Linked DNA regions of Homo sapiens: regions 1, 3 and 4 are each linked to region 2. The links are contacts of gene promoters, found by promoter capture Hi-C in blood cells and fetal thymus (Javierre and others, 2016). All regions are on one chromosome and are shown on one strand. The core of a region is centred on a gene start or on the middle of the fragment in contact, and the rest is flanking DNA. Distances in the headings are between cores, read along the strand shown.

The links. Contacts are between HindIII fragments. The CHiCAGO score rates a contact against its expected background, and 5 or more counts as called.
Region 1: a contact is called between a fragment that was not itself captured here and the fragment with the promoter of RWDD2B in region 2, in 11 of 17 cell types (naive B cells, fetal thymus, activated CD4 T cells and 8 more). The highest score is 11.8, in naive B cells.
Region 3: a fragment that was not itself captured here is called in contact with the fragment with the promoter of RWDD2B in region 2 in 2 of 17 cell types (neutrophils and naive B cells); the score reaches 9.3 in neutrophils.
Region 4: a fragment that was not itself captured here is called in contact with the fragment with the promoter of RWDD2B in region 2 in 2 of 17 cell types (neutrophils and non-activated CD4 T cells); the score reaches 6.5 in neutrophils.

The regions. Positions count from the first base shown.
Region 1 is chr21:29,339,140-29,342,293 of GRCh38, reverse strand. All of the region lies in intron 4 of BACH1 (BTB domain and CNC homolog 1), which reads right to left. Among named protein-coding and RNA genes, the nearest start is that of BACH1-IT2, 32 kb to the left of the region's middle. RefSeq lists an enhancer at 1-174. The HindIII fragment of the contact is 449 bases long and covers 1,573-2,021 here.
Region 2 is chr21:29,017,256-29,020,633 of GRCh38, reverse strand. RWDD2B (RWD domain containing 2B) reads left to right here and starts at 1,285. Exons shown (of 5, transcript NM_016940.3): 1 at 1,285-1,423. The coding sequence starts at 1,357. It overlaps LOC124905005 (a long non-coding RNA gene), which reads right to left and starts at 3,048. Exons shown (of 2, transcript XR_007067836.1): 1 at 2,387-3,048; 2 at 1-1,721. RefSeq lists an enhancer at 1,195-1,444. The HindIII fragment of the contact is 4,408 bases long and covers 1-2,330 here.
Region 3 is chr21:29,357,807-29,360,882 of GRCh38, reverse strand. It overlaps a transcript of BACH1 not described here. Among named protein-coding and RNA genes, the nearest start is that of BACH1-IT2, 13 kb to the left of the region's middle. The HindIII fragment of the contact is 8,040 bases long and covers 1-3,076 here.
Region 4 is chr21:29,476,923-29,480,185 of GRCh38, reverse strand. No RefSeq gene overlaps it. Among named protein-coding and RNA genes, the nearest start is that of BACH1-IT3, 17 kb to the left of the region's middle. The HindIII fragment of the contact is 6,871 bases long and covers 1-3,263 here.

The DNA.
Region 1 (3,154 bases), core at 548-3,047, 320 kb before region 2:
ATGGAGTTTATCCTTTCAATTCCATTCAATTATACATTAAATACTAAAGGCCCAGAATCTCCCACCCAAAACTCTTGGGGCAGATGTATTTTGGCACAAAGCATTTTTCAGGTTTTGGAAAGACAGTATGGGTGCACACATAATTTCTCTAGCAGGCCTGGGGCAGCACTTCCCTATCAACTATCTTTACATTTCTAGGTAAACATTAAAATAGCAAATAATGAAGAAAGTAGGATAAAGACTATGTAGTCTAATGTCAATTTGGGGCAGTTTTTCGGTCAAAAGAGTTTGTGACAAACATACGGTTTTTGGAGCTTTCTGGATTTACAGACTGTACATAACAGGTATGGATGGCATTTTGGATGGGATACAAGAAAAAAAGTAAAAGTACAGTTAGCATAACTTAATTACTGAGACTCAAAGCATTGCAAGATTCAACTAATGACCAGCATTTGTTGAGCAGATTCTCTGACAGATATTGTGCTAAATGTTTTCCAACATGCAATCTCAGCTATGTAATCCACACAACACCTCTCTTGATTTAAGCAACATCAAACCCACTGAAGGGATGGGACTGAATTTAAGATGCCTAGAGACAGCCGGTGGGTGAGTTACTAAAGTGTGAAGAATTCGGGGGGGTAATTTTGTGCTTGCTAATTACCATTTTTGTTATTATTATAATTTTAAGATATTACCCCTATAAGAAAGTCTACCACAGAATTTTTCAAAAGTTTTTCTGGTTCCTGCCTTCCTGTCCATGTCACTTATCACTGCTGACAGCATGTCTTTTCTATTATCATCCCATTTCATCCTTCTTGTTCTAACATCTTATTGCTTCTAATCTATTATGAGCCAGGAAACCAAATAATCAAGGTATTTATAAGAAAAGAGTAAATAAACACTTGCTAGAAAGTCAAACGTTTTTCTTATGAAATTTATCACAACTCTCAACAAGTCAGTGTTGTTCTGTTTGCTTTCTGTTCATTGACAGGTTCTGGAGAGTTGAGGCTGCCAGTTAACCTTGAGACAAGTTAGTTCATAGTGCTAATCTATAAGTGCCATCCTTTAGTCTTTTATGACATAAAAGTCACTAAAAGGGTAAAACGAATTTTGCTTTATACAAAAGTATTGTTATGGTTTTATACAAAAGTATTACTATAAAATTATGTATGAATCCAATTATTGTTATTTCTAAAATATTTTAAAGCCTTGTAATATTTTGAGAAAATATACAATAAATACAAAATACTAAATTTTTATATGGCAAAGTATTCTCCAATCTGTTCAGATTTTTATATACAAGTTCTTTTTTTTTTTTTTTTTAAATAGATGTAGGTCAAGAATGTGCGTGTTAAGTATGTGTATGTAAGCAAAATCAATGTTTGGCCAGTACATTTTCTCTTATGCAAAGTTTATCAGTTGCACTCTTCTGATAAAATGAGTCTGCAGATACTGAAAGGGCAAGAACGGTACCTACTGCTTGTTCACAGTAGGAACCATTAAATGCAATCAACACCCATTTCTTTTTATGGTCTCTCAGAAGCCAATCCAAAGGAGGATGAAAACAAAGCTTCCAGAAGAAAGTGAGAAAGAATCTTTCTTCACTCATGGCAATATTCAGCCATGGACTCCTCTACCAAAGTTGGGATGAATCTATTCTAAACAGCAATAGAAAATTTTCAACTGCTGGTTGGTCTTTTAAATTAAATATGGTTCAACAAAATAAGGAGTACTTGAGCTTCCTCCCAGAAATTAGAACCACTACTTAACCTACAGATACTATGAAGATTACAAATATTTTATGACTTCTGTATCTTAATATCCACATGATCTTTAAATACTCTCACTCCTCCCACCCCACTAAATTAGGGATGACATCATTCTTTAAGTATACAAGATGGCTTGCTTCTTCACAACAACTAAAACAAATAGGCACAGCCCTAGAACTCCACCAGAATTATTTCTATAAATTAAATGTTCCCATCTGTTCCCCTGCACTTTAACTCCTACACAGCTAAGCTTCTAAGCAGTTTCCATTTCACTCTAAGTTTAAGACACATATTTACTATAATAGCAGTCAGCTTAATAACTAAAAGTAAAATACAAGTAATTCAAGTTAATTACTTAATGACATCAGTATTTAAGATACCTCCCAAAGTCACTACTTACAGTCATGAGTGGGACTCACTATTAGTGTCCTGCTACCTATCCCTACAATATATTTCCATTTTCCTATAAAAACAACTGTATAAATCACGTTTGAAGTGCTGCACCTTTAATTAGAGCTATTTCTTAAAAAGGAATAAAATTGGCATTCTGGTACCATTCTGGATTTTATACCAACAAAAAATCTTTACAGGCTGGGCACAGTGGCTCACGCCTGTAATCCCAGCACTTTGGGAGGCTGAGGTGGGCGGGTCATGTGAGGTCAGGAGTTCGAGACCAGCTTAGCCAACATGGTGAAACCCTGTCTCTAATAAAAATACAAAAAAATTAGCTGGGCATGGTGGCACACACCTGTAAACCTAGCTAAAAGGGCAGGCTGAGGCAGGGGAATCACTTGAGCCTGGGAGACGGAGGTTGCGGTGAGCCGAGATTGTGCCGCTGCACTCCAGCCTGGGTGACAGAGCAAGACTCTGTCTCAAAAAAAAAAAAAAAAAAAAACCTTTGCATCTAAATCCTTATTTTGAATAGCTAGTGCACAATATTTATTCAAATATAATTTTTTTAAAGATCATAAATATAACTCACCCAATAAAGATATAGAAGAATTTGGCACCAAAAGTACAAGTGACAATTTTATGATAGGGTAAAGAGTACTCACTGTTAGAAAATGGTCACTAATAGTTCCTTAGTAAGTAAAACCTCTGAACGGCAGTTCAGAGAAATCTGCAAATGGCACTGAGAAATATAAGCAAAAATGCTCATTTTCACTCATAAGATAAAAATAAAAGCTACCACGAGATATCATGGTATCTCACTATCAGACTGGAAAAAACCCAAAAGCTGACAACAAATCTTGACTGAGGGTGTGGACAGACACACACACATATACTGCTGCTGGAAGGCCAAATATGACAATTCCTAAGGAGGGGAATCTGTTAATATCTAATAAAATTATGTATGTATTTACCCTTGATCCAACAATCCCACT
Region 2 (3,378 bases), core at 36-2,535:
AATACCATCCTTCCAGTTGTGACAACCCAAAATGTCTTCAGACACTGCTAAATAGAGGGGAAATCCATCCTTCCCCTTCTCTTGAGGTCTGCTCCACTGTAAAATTCTCTCGACTTCGCTTTACACTTGAATTTTTTCATAATAAATGTTGGAGGAAAAAATAAATTATGACATTGAAAAACGCTCATGAAACACTATGCAGAAGACGTAGTTTATGAAGACCTACAATACATACTGTCGTATTTTTGTTTAAAAAAAAAAAGTGGAGGGGAGACCTAGCAGTGATATTTAGTATTGCTAAATGTCAATGTTTACAAATCTTATCTATGACATTTCTAAAATGAATATTATAAAGTGTATTGCATATAGTTGGATTGGGAAGAAAAACATTTCTAATTATTCTCCTGTCAGCATCTCCTTCAAACTACCCTTTTATTAACAGGGATAGATATGCATTCACACGGTTCCTCCCAGCTTGGTTAATGGGCAAGAACACCTAAGATAGCCAAGGCCACCATGCATCCAGGCTCACATCTCCCTAATTGCCCTCCTCCATGATTCAGGGACAAGGAGGATCACCATCGTGTGGGAAGATACTAGAAATGTAGAATTTGGAACCCCACCCCTACCTACGGAATCCTGATCTGCACTTCAACAGGATCCCCGAACTATTCCTAGGCGCGTTCGAATTTGAGGAACATTAACGGACCAATTCTTTGTCCCTGAAAAGTGCCCGTTATAGAGGCGGCCGCTGGGAAATGACAACGGGGTTGGCATGGAGAGGTATTAAGTAGAAAAACTCCGGCCGGGCACGGTGGCTCAGGCCTGTAATCCCAGCACTGTGGGAGGCCGAGGCCGGTGGATCACCTGAGGTCAGGAGTTCGAGACCAGCCTGGCCAACATGGTGAAACCCCATTTCTACTGAAAAATACAAAAATTATCTGGGCATGGTGGTGGGCGCCTGTAATCCCAGCTACTCGGGAGGCTGAGGCAGGAGAATCGCTTGAACCCAGGAGGCGGAGGCTGCAGTGAGCCGAGATCGCGCCACTGCACTCCAGCTTGAGAGACACAGCGAGACTCCGTCTCAAAAAAAAAAAAAAGGAAGAAAGAAAGAAGAAGAAGAGAACTCTGCGACTGAAAAGTACCTAGCAGGGACAACGCATTCCCTACGTCCTTCCAAGTGCAGACACCAACACCGGCGGACGCGGCTCCCAACAGGCGAGCCCCAGCTTCCGGTCCGCGGCCTTGGACGCGCATGCGCCGCATGCTTTTTTTTTTTTTTTCCGGTAGGTCGCCAGCTGAGGCGGTTTGTAAGTTTTGGGTCGCAGTATGCTAGAATTTTGAGGCTCCCTTCTGATGAAAATTGAGCTGTCCATGCAGCCATGGAACCCGGGTTACAGCAGTGAGGGGGCCACGGCTCAAGGTGAGTCTCGCCTCAGCTAGCGCCAGTGGTGACCGCCACGGGGGTTTCCCACGCTGCAGCGCCCAGTGCAACCCTTTGGGAACGTGCCCGGCATGGCGGCCCCGGTTCCCCTCACTGCATGCGCCCATCGGTCGGCTCGGTCCTCGGCGTTGCTTCCCGGCTTCTGCAGCCCTGCTCCAGCCGGGGACCTCGCCCCGGGGGCAATCAGGGTGCGAGGGCGGCTGCGTGCTGGGCTTTCTTCCTGAGAGCGTCTTGGCTTGGGTCGCGGGGTACCCTGCTCTGTTCTTCAAAAAAAAATCTGCAAGGAAAAGATATTATTCCACTCAGAAATCTCAAGTTTCAGTCTGCGTTCTCTTAAATATATTTTATTTTTTAAAAAAATAATAAAGGCGAGCTCTTACTATGTTACCCAGGCTGATCTTGAACTCCTGGGCTCAAGCAGTCCCCCTTCCTCTGCCTCCCAAAGTGCTGGGATTACAGGCGTGAGCAATCGCGCCCGGCCACAGTCTATTATCTTACAGCATTCGCTGAAATCTTGAATCATAAAATTATCTTGAGGGTTTTTTGGAAGGACTGAAATCTCTTAAGCGAAAATAATTTGGCAGATAAATGACCTGTGACATCACTCCCGTAGTTGTCCGTTCAAGAGTCCCTCCGTCCCGTTCTTCTTTGCTAATCCCATTTCATCTTCGATACCTCCAATTCAATAGCACCCTCTCCCAACTTTACTCACTCCCTGGGAGACTTTAAACAAATATATAGTTCCAAATAAGTGTTGACTCCCAAGATTATATATCTAGCTGAGTCTCTCGTAGACTTCAAAACTATACATCTAACTGCCTGCTAGACCTCTCTATTTAACAGGTGTCTTAGTAGGCACTTCATTACTTGTGTCTAAAACCAAGCTTCAGCTCCCCATGACCATCAACGTCTAAATAAATGGCAGATCCATACTTTCAGTACCTTAAAGCCCCGGAGTCATTCTTCCGTGTCTCATGTAATTCATCTGTAAATCCTGTTGCCTCTGTTCTCTGCATGTATCCAGAACCTGAAGCTCACCAACTTGACCACTATAATCCTATCAAAGCCACCATCATCTCTCCCTAGTTATTGCGGTGTCTATATCTGGTCACCCCACTTTTCCTTTCACTTTTCTCCATAGCAGCAAGTGTGGGGATCTTCATAAGTCAAACCTCTCTTGTAGCTCTTACATGTCAGTCGGGATAAAATTCAAAATTCTGGCCATGCTTTACTAGTCCCAACATAAACTGCCCCACATTTCCTTACTAAACTCTTCTATTCCCCGTGTCCTCAGCTCACTGTGCTCTGGCCAGCTGTTCTAGCACCCTCCTTCCTCAAGGCCTTTGAATATGCTGTTCGCTTTCCCTTGAACACTCTTGGCCAAGAAAAACACATGGCCTCCTTTTTCAGTTCCTTAAAGTCTCTTCCCTACAGTCACCTTAGGAGAAAGGCCTTTCCTGACAATGCTGTGTGCAGTCTCACCCCTGCTGCCTCATTGTTTCCCTTATCCTTGTTTTCTTTTTCAGGTTTCTTCATAGCAGTTATTCACTGGGTACAAAAATTCTTTTTTGTTTTTTTTTGAGACAGTCTTGCTCTGTTGCTCTGGCTGGAGTGCAGAGGTATGATCTTAGCTCACTGCAACCTCCGCCTCCCCAGTTCAAGCGATTCTCCTGCCTCAGCCTCCCTAGTAGCTGGGACTACAGGCGTGGGCGACCACACCTGGCTAATTTTTGTATTTTTAGTAGAGATGGGGTTTCATCATGTTGGCCAGGCTGGTCTCAAACTCCTGACCTTAGGTGATCCGCCCACCTCATCCTCCCAAAGTGCTGGGATTACAGGCGTGAGCCACCACCGCACCTGGGCTGGGCGTATAAATTTGTTTTTGATGTCATGGTATCCTCCCACCAGTAGAGTTGTTTTATTACTTTCATTCA
Region 3 (3,076 bases), core at 577-3,076, 340 kb before region 2:
AGCATGTGGGGTTTTTTTTTGTTTTTTTTTTTTTTTTGAGACAGGGTCTTGCTCTGTTGCCCCAGTCTGGAGTGCAGTGGTGCCATCTCAGCTCACTGCAACCTCCACCTCGTGGGTTCAAGCTATTCTCCTGTCTCAGCCTCCTGAGTAGCTGGGATTACAGGTGTGTGCCACCACACCTGGGTAATTTTTGTATTTTTAGTAGAGACAGGGTTTCGCCATGTTGGCCAGACTGGTCTTGAACTCCTGAGCTCAGGTGATCCACCCACCTCGGCCTCCCAAAGTGCTGGGATTACAGGCGTGAGCCACTGCGCCTGGCCAGATGCAGTCTTAATGAGGGCAGTCAGGGGAGCCTCACTGACAAGATGACAATGGGGCAAACATGACATTCCCAGGAGTTCCCAGGAGAGGACAGGGGCCTGGGAATGAGGCCAGAGGGTTGGGGAGGGAGTTCATTGTGGAAGGCCTCTGAGGCCGCCGACAAAATAGCAGCTTTTAGCTGAGTAAAATATCACTTCTTGCTTTTAGATATCTGCCTGATGGACAGCTACGTTTTGTGAGCCCAAAGTATTTGAGACAGGTCTCAATTAATTTAGAAAGTTTATCTGCCAAGGCTAAGGACGTGCCTATGACAGCGTCAGGAAGTCTTGGGTACATGATGACATGTACCCAAGTGGTCAGGGCACAGCTTGGTTTTATACATTTTAGCTTGATTTTATACATTGATGAGACCTCAATCAATATGCATAAGAGGTACATTGGTTTGGTCCAGAAAGGTGGAACAACTCGAAGTAAGGGATTCCAGGTCAGAGGTAGATAAGGGACAAAAGGTTTCATTCTTTGGGGTCTTCGATCAGCCTTTCACTGAATACATGTGAGGTGGAATGAATAGAGGAATAGTCACTGATGCCTTAGTCTGACTCAGTGAATCTGCATTTTTACATAAACAATAGGTCAGAGGAAGCAATGAGAAATGCATTTGTCACAGGTGAGCAGAGCAATGATCAAGAGTTCTGTCTGTCCTCTGTCCTGGGCCTGTGAAGATAAGGTATCAATTAATATGGCCAGGATGAAGTTCAACAGAACTGTTTTAGGGTAAAGATCTTTGAGGCTCACAAGGAATTTCCTTACGGGCAAATTGTGAGGGAGGTATGTAGCTTTTTTATTTTTATTGTTTTTCTTTGTAGTTATTTTATTTAGGAATAAAATGGGAGGCAGGTTTGTCTGATGCAGTTCCCAGCTTGACTTTTCCCTTTGGCTTAGTGATTCTGGAGTCTTGAGATTTATTTTCCTTTCACGGTTTTCCCCATTTCTTTCTTTGCTTAAAATCGTGTTTGATAGTTTTATAATCGTGGTGGTGGTTATTGTCTCAAGATTCATGAGTACTCGCAAAAGCAAATTTTAATAAATAACAACTGTTCACCCCAGATGGACTTCAATTTTTTTTATTCACAGAGAGATTTCGATATACCTGGTTATAATCATACTAGATACATAAATCACTTGCTTTCATGTTTAGCATCTGTCATGAGTATTTTTCATTTTATTCCATGTTTACCATAAACATTTTGTTAGCTAAAAACTCATAAAGAGACAATCATTGTGTCAAACATTTGATTTTACTGTGAGGATTAAGGGAAAAATTATAAAAAGAGCCGAGTACAGTGTCAAATCTTAGTTTGAGTAGAGATACAATATAGTGCTTTGCTTTTTTCCATTTCTAAAGGTCTATTCAAAATTATTTACTATGATAAATGCTATGATGGACATCTTGATATAAGAAGAAATTTTTATTATTATTATTATGGATTAATAATAGTCCTAAAATTTAAGATTATTGTTCTTCAGGATGGATTCCTTGGCATACAATTACTGTGTCTGATGTTATGGCTAGTTTAAAATGTTTTAAATAAAATATCAAACTGCTTCCCCAAAGCATAAAAGCTATTTTAAATACTACCCCCCTTGTGTTAGAATGCCAGTTTCACTCCCCCTCATTTTTTATTTTCTAATTTGATATATTTTTTACTTCTTTCTATTTAGCACTTTTTACATTTCTTTCTTTCTTCTTTCTTTCTTTCTTTCTTTCTTTCTTTCTTTCTTTCTTTCTTTTCTTTTCTTTTCTTTTCTTTTCTTTTTTTCTGAGACAGAGTCTCACTCTGTCACCCAGGCTGGAATGCAGTGGTGTGATCTCAGCTTACTGCAACCTCTGCCTCCTGAGGTCAAGCAATCCTCCTGCCTCAGCCTCCCCAGTAGCTGGGATTACAGGCGCCCTCCACCACACCCAACTAATTTTTGGATTTTTAGTAGAGATGGGGTTTCACCATGTTGGCCAGGCTGGTCTTGAACTCCTGATCTCGTGATCCACTTGCCTCGGCCTCCCAAAGTGCTGGGATTACAGGCGTGAGCCACGGCGCCCAGCCCACTTTTTATATTTCTAATGAGAAATAATGATAAAAATCTTCAAAAGCATGTTTAACCCACACAGGTTGCCTCCAAAGTCCCTGAGTTCCTGGTTATTGAGTGCTCCTGTTTTCTCTTTTGTCCTCTGCAGGCCCATGTCTGTTGCTCCTTTGTCTTGATGTAGTTTGGTGTTCTTTTTATTGGATATTGTCAAATGTGTAAAGATTAAAGATATTAGCCCTGTAACTGTTGTTTGGATGACTCTTAAATCTTGAGGCCAAATTAGTTTTCACTTTTACGCTGAATTGCTAACATCAAATGTGCCCTTCCTGCCCCACCCAAAAGGGCAGAGGAAGTGACAACCCCAGGGGCCCTCCTTCTCCCCTGTGTCCAGGGAAGAGCATCCCCACTTCCAGTCACTCCAGCAGGGAAGTATAAGGAAAGGGCAGAAGAAGTGAGGGGTGGACATCAGACCACAGGGACTAGCTCTCAGGGCGTGTGGGGACTAGGTGAGTGGGAGAAGCGGATCACGCTGACTCCACTAGATCCAGTAGGAGTAGCCAAAGCTGGAGTTATTATCTACATGAATATGGGGAACGAGTTACCCATTTGTTGTCCCCTACTTGAGGAGGGAATCAACCCTGAAGTCTGGGCATTGGAAGGAACAAACTCA
Region 4 (3,263 bases), core at 27-2,526, 460 kb before region 2:
AAAGAAAACAAAATCTGCATGACTGCATTCTTCTTAATAGTGTAAAAACTTGGAGATTAGGGAAAACTTTAGGAGTGGAAATGTGACTGGGAAAATGGAAGTTGTTTATTCACATTGGTTGATCTCTAAAGCTAGAATATCTGGATTTCCAGCTCCACCACTTTGGCAAGTTATGTAATCTCGGTTTTTCACATTGCTAAAACGGAAACAAAAATAGACTCAACCCAACAGGGCTCTTATGGAGTTCAACGAGATAAAGTGTGTTCAGGGCTGGCAACTGCTGAGCTCCCCCCTACTCCATATCAGGTCTTATTACTGCTATTATGGAGCTGTATCAGTATTCCTCATGTCACTCAGAGAAGGCCCATCCAAAAAGACACAAAGGGGTGTAAACCCAAGTGTATTCTTCATCTCGCCATGCAAGCATGAACACCCACTGGCTACTCTCCTTTCACTACCCAGAAAAACTTTCCGTCCATAATGCAAACTGCATCGTAAACTCCAGGAAACACCAGCTTTCATCACATAGGTAATTTAAGCATAGCTTTAACCTCCATTGCTTAAGTTCTAGCTCTGTCTGTGGGTCTCCCAGTCTACCATTCTGGCCCATGCCATAACAATAGCTACCAACAACACTAATATTTATTAAGTGCTTATAATGCACCTTATGAGTTTTCACTCATTTAGTCCTCAAAACAACCCATTAAAAAGATGATTATTATATCATCTTTTTACTAATCTATTCTTCAAATTAGGAAACAAAAGCAAAGAAGGGTCACATAACTTATCCAAAGTCACACTATAAATCAACCATGTATAGTTAAGAGATGCATTAAAATACAAAACCATAGAGTGAAAGGTGCATTAAAATAAAAATAATTTTAAATTATGACAAATTACCAGCTGGTCCAGGTATCTGGTCTTTTGGAAAAGTTACTCAATTTTACCAAAATTTGTATAAACCCTTTGTAAAAACTCTGGAAAAGATCTTAGAGATTCATAAGGTAGAAAAATGTGAGACTTTCTGCAATTAAACTTGAGCAAGCTGAGATAAAATTCTGTAAAGAAAGGAAGGAAAAAGAAAGAAGGAAGAGAAAAAGAACAGAAGAAGCAGATCAGAGAATGAAAATAACCATAATTAAACTCCTAATGATGTGTAAAGCAGCATTTTAGAAACATTTTATTTGTATGACTTGCTAATACTCCAAACTCTTTTGTCTTTCTCCCTCTTTCCATTGTGTCCATCTGTGGAGATCCCAACCTTTGTCCTTGCGTTTAAGCAGCCAAGTCATGTTCTAACCTTGACCCTGTCTTCAGTCTGTGTCCCCTCACTTGCTGAAGAGACCATCAAACATTGTTACTCCAGCCAGAATGACCCATGATGCTGTCTTCCCTTAACCACCCCTTCCTACCCAATTCCTCCCAAAGTTCCGTCCATTTTAGGTCCCACCTGTCTCTTGAATCTGGCCACTAGTCTCCAGGCCCTTGTCCTCTCATCCAAGTTCCTCTCTCTTGTGCCAGGATTTGCATGGCCACCTTTTTGCTCCTGTGGCATCCTGGGCACCACTTCACTTCCATGTGCTATTTCTACAGCAACAGGGCTATTTTCAATGTATAAACTCATTACACCCTCCTGTATCAACAACAGCTCCTCCGCTGTCATGGTTAATATTGAGAGTCAACTTGATTGGATTGAAGGATGCAAAGTATTGTTCTGGGTGTGTCTATGAGTGTGTTCCCAGAGGAGATTAACATTTGAGTCAGTGGACTGAGAGAGACAGACTCACCCTCAATCTGGGTGGGCACCATCTAATCAGCTGCCAGCACGGCCAGAATAAAAGCAGGCAGAAGAACGTGGAAAGACTAGAACGGCTAAGTCTTCTGGACTCCGTCCTTCTCCCATGCTGGATGCTTCCTACCCTCAAACATCAGCCTCTAGGTTCCTCAGCTTTTGGACTCTTGGACTTACATCAGTTGTTTGCTGAGTGCTCTTGGGCTTTAGGCCACAGACTGTACGTTGGCTTCCCTACTTTTGAGGTTTGGTGACTCAGACTTAGCCACTACTGGCTTCTTTGCTCCTTAGCTTGCAGGCAGCCTATGATGGGACTTCACCTTGTGACCTTGAGAGCTAATTCTCCATAATAAACACCCTTTAGTATATACCTCTATCCCATTAGTTCTGTCCTTCTGGAGAACCCTGACTAATACACCAGCTCTGCCGTAGCCCTCTGGGTCAGCCTGTTCTCCCCGGCCTCATTTCACGCTCTCTTCCTCTAGCTGTCTGTGCTCCAACCTGCATTCCTTAGACACACCATTCCCACCTCTGTCCTCTGCCTGGGCCCATTCTTTTCCACCAACACTCCCCTTCCCATCTCACTGCCTTTCCCTGCTTAATGTCAATCCATCTTTCAGATTTCACCTTCAGTCTAACTTTTTAGGGAGACCCGGCCTGACCACCCAGCTAGAGCAGGTCTGTGGTTGTCTGCTGTGATTCTACAACATGTTTTTTTTTTTTTTCCTTCGGAGCTCTTCCTTCAGTGTGTGATTACACATGCACTCCTTTGGGTGTTTTGTTTGAAATCAAGGTTGTTTTATCCACCTGACCATATGTGCTATGAGCTCGGGGAGCACACCTGGTTGTTCTCAGCATGTCACCCAGCTGGACCTGCAAAGAGTGCCACATATGCAGTATCCATTGCCTGAACAAGTGACTCCCTCTAAAATTCACAACAAAGCTAATAGCTGTTGTGCCTGAGGACATACAGCAAGTGCAGCCACAAACATCAGGTCAGACATTAGAAAGCGGCGCTCAAACTTCATGGCTTTCTAAGTCCCCATGCCACCAACCCTTCTGGACAACAGCTGACTTCCATTTCTAAAGAACCATAAAAAGGTCATTGGTTTGCAAAATCAAAATTTGTTCTGGGTGCTACTGTGCCCTCATAAATGAAATTTTGTTATTAAAGGAATGAACCTATTAGAAAACAATTTTTGGTGGAGTTTAAAGAAACAAGTTTCTACTCTCTTCCCCCACCCCCCCCAAAAAAAAAATCACACCATCTGGTACAAATCAAGAGAAAACTCACCCTGCTAATGACATGTGCAAACATGAATAATGAGGGCTTGAGGGTGGCAGAAAAACAGCATTCTCCCTCTGATGTGAGTCAGGAGTTTTAGAAAGTCTGAGATTTGAGAAAACTTTTCCAGGAAAAAGTAACAACAGCTTTTCATTCTCAATGTGTCAGTCAGTGTTTGAGTTAAAG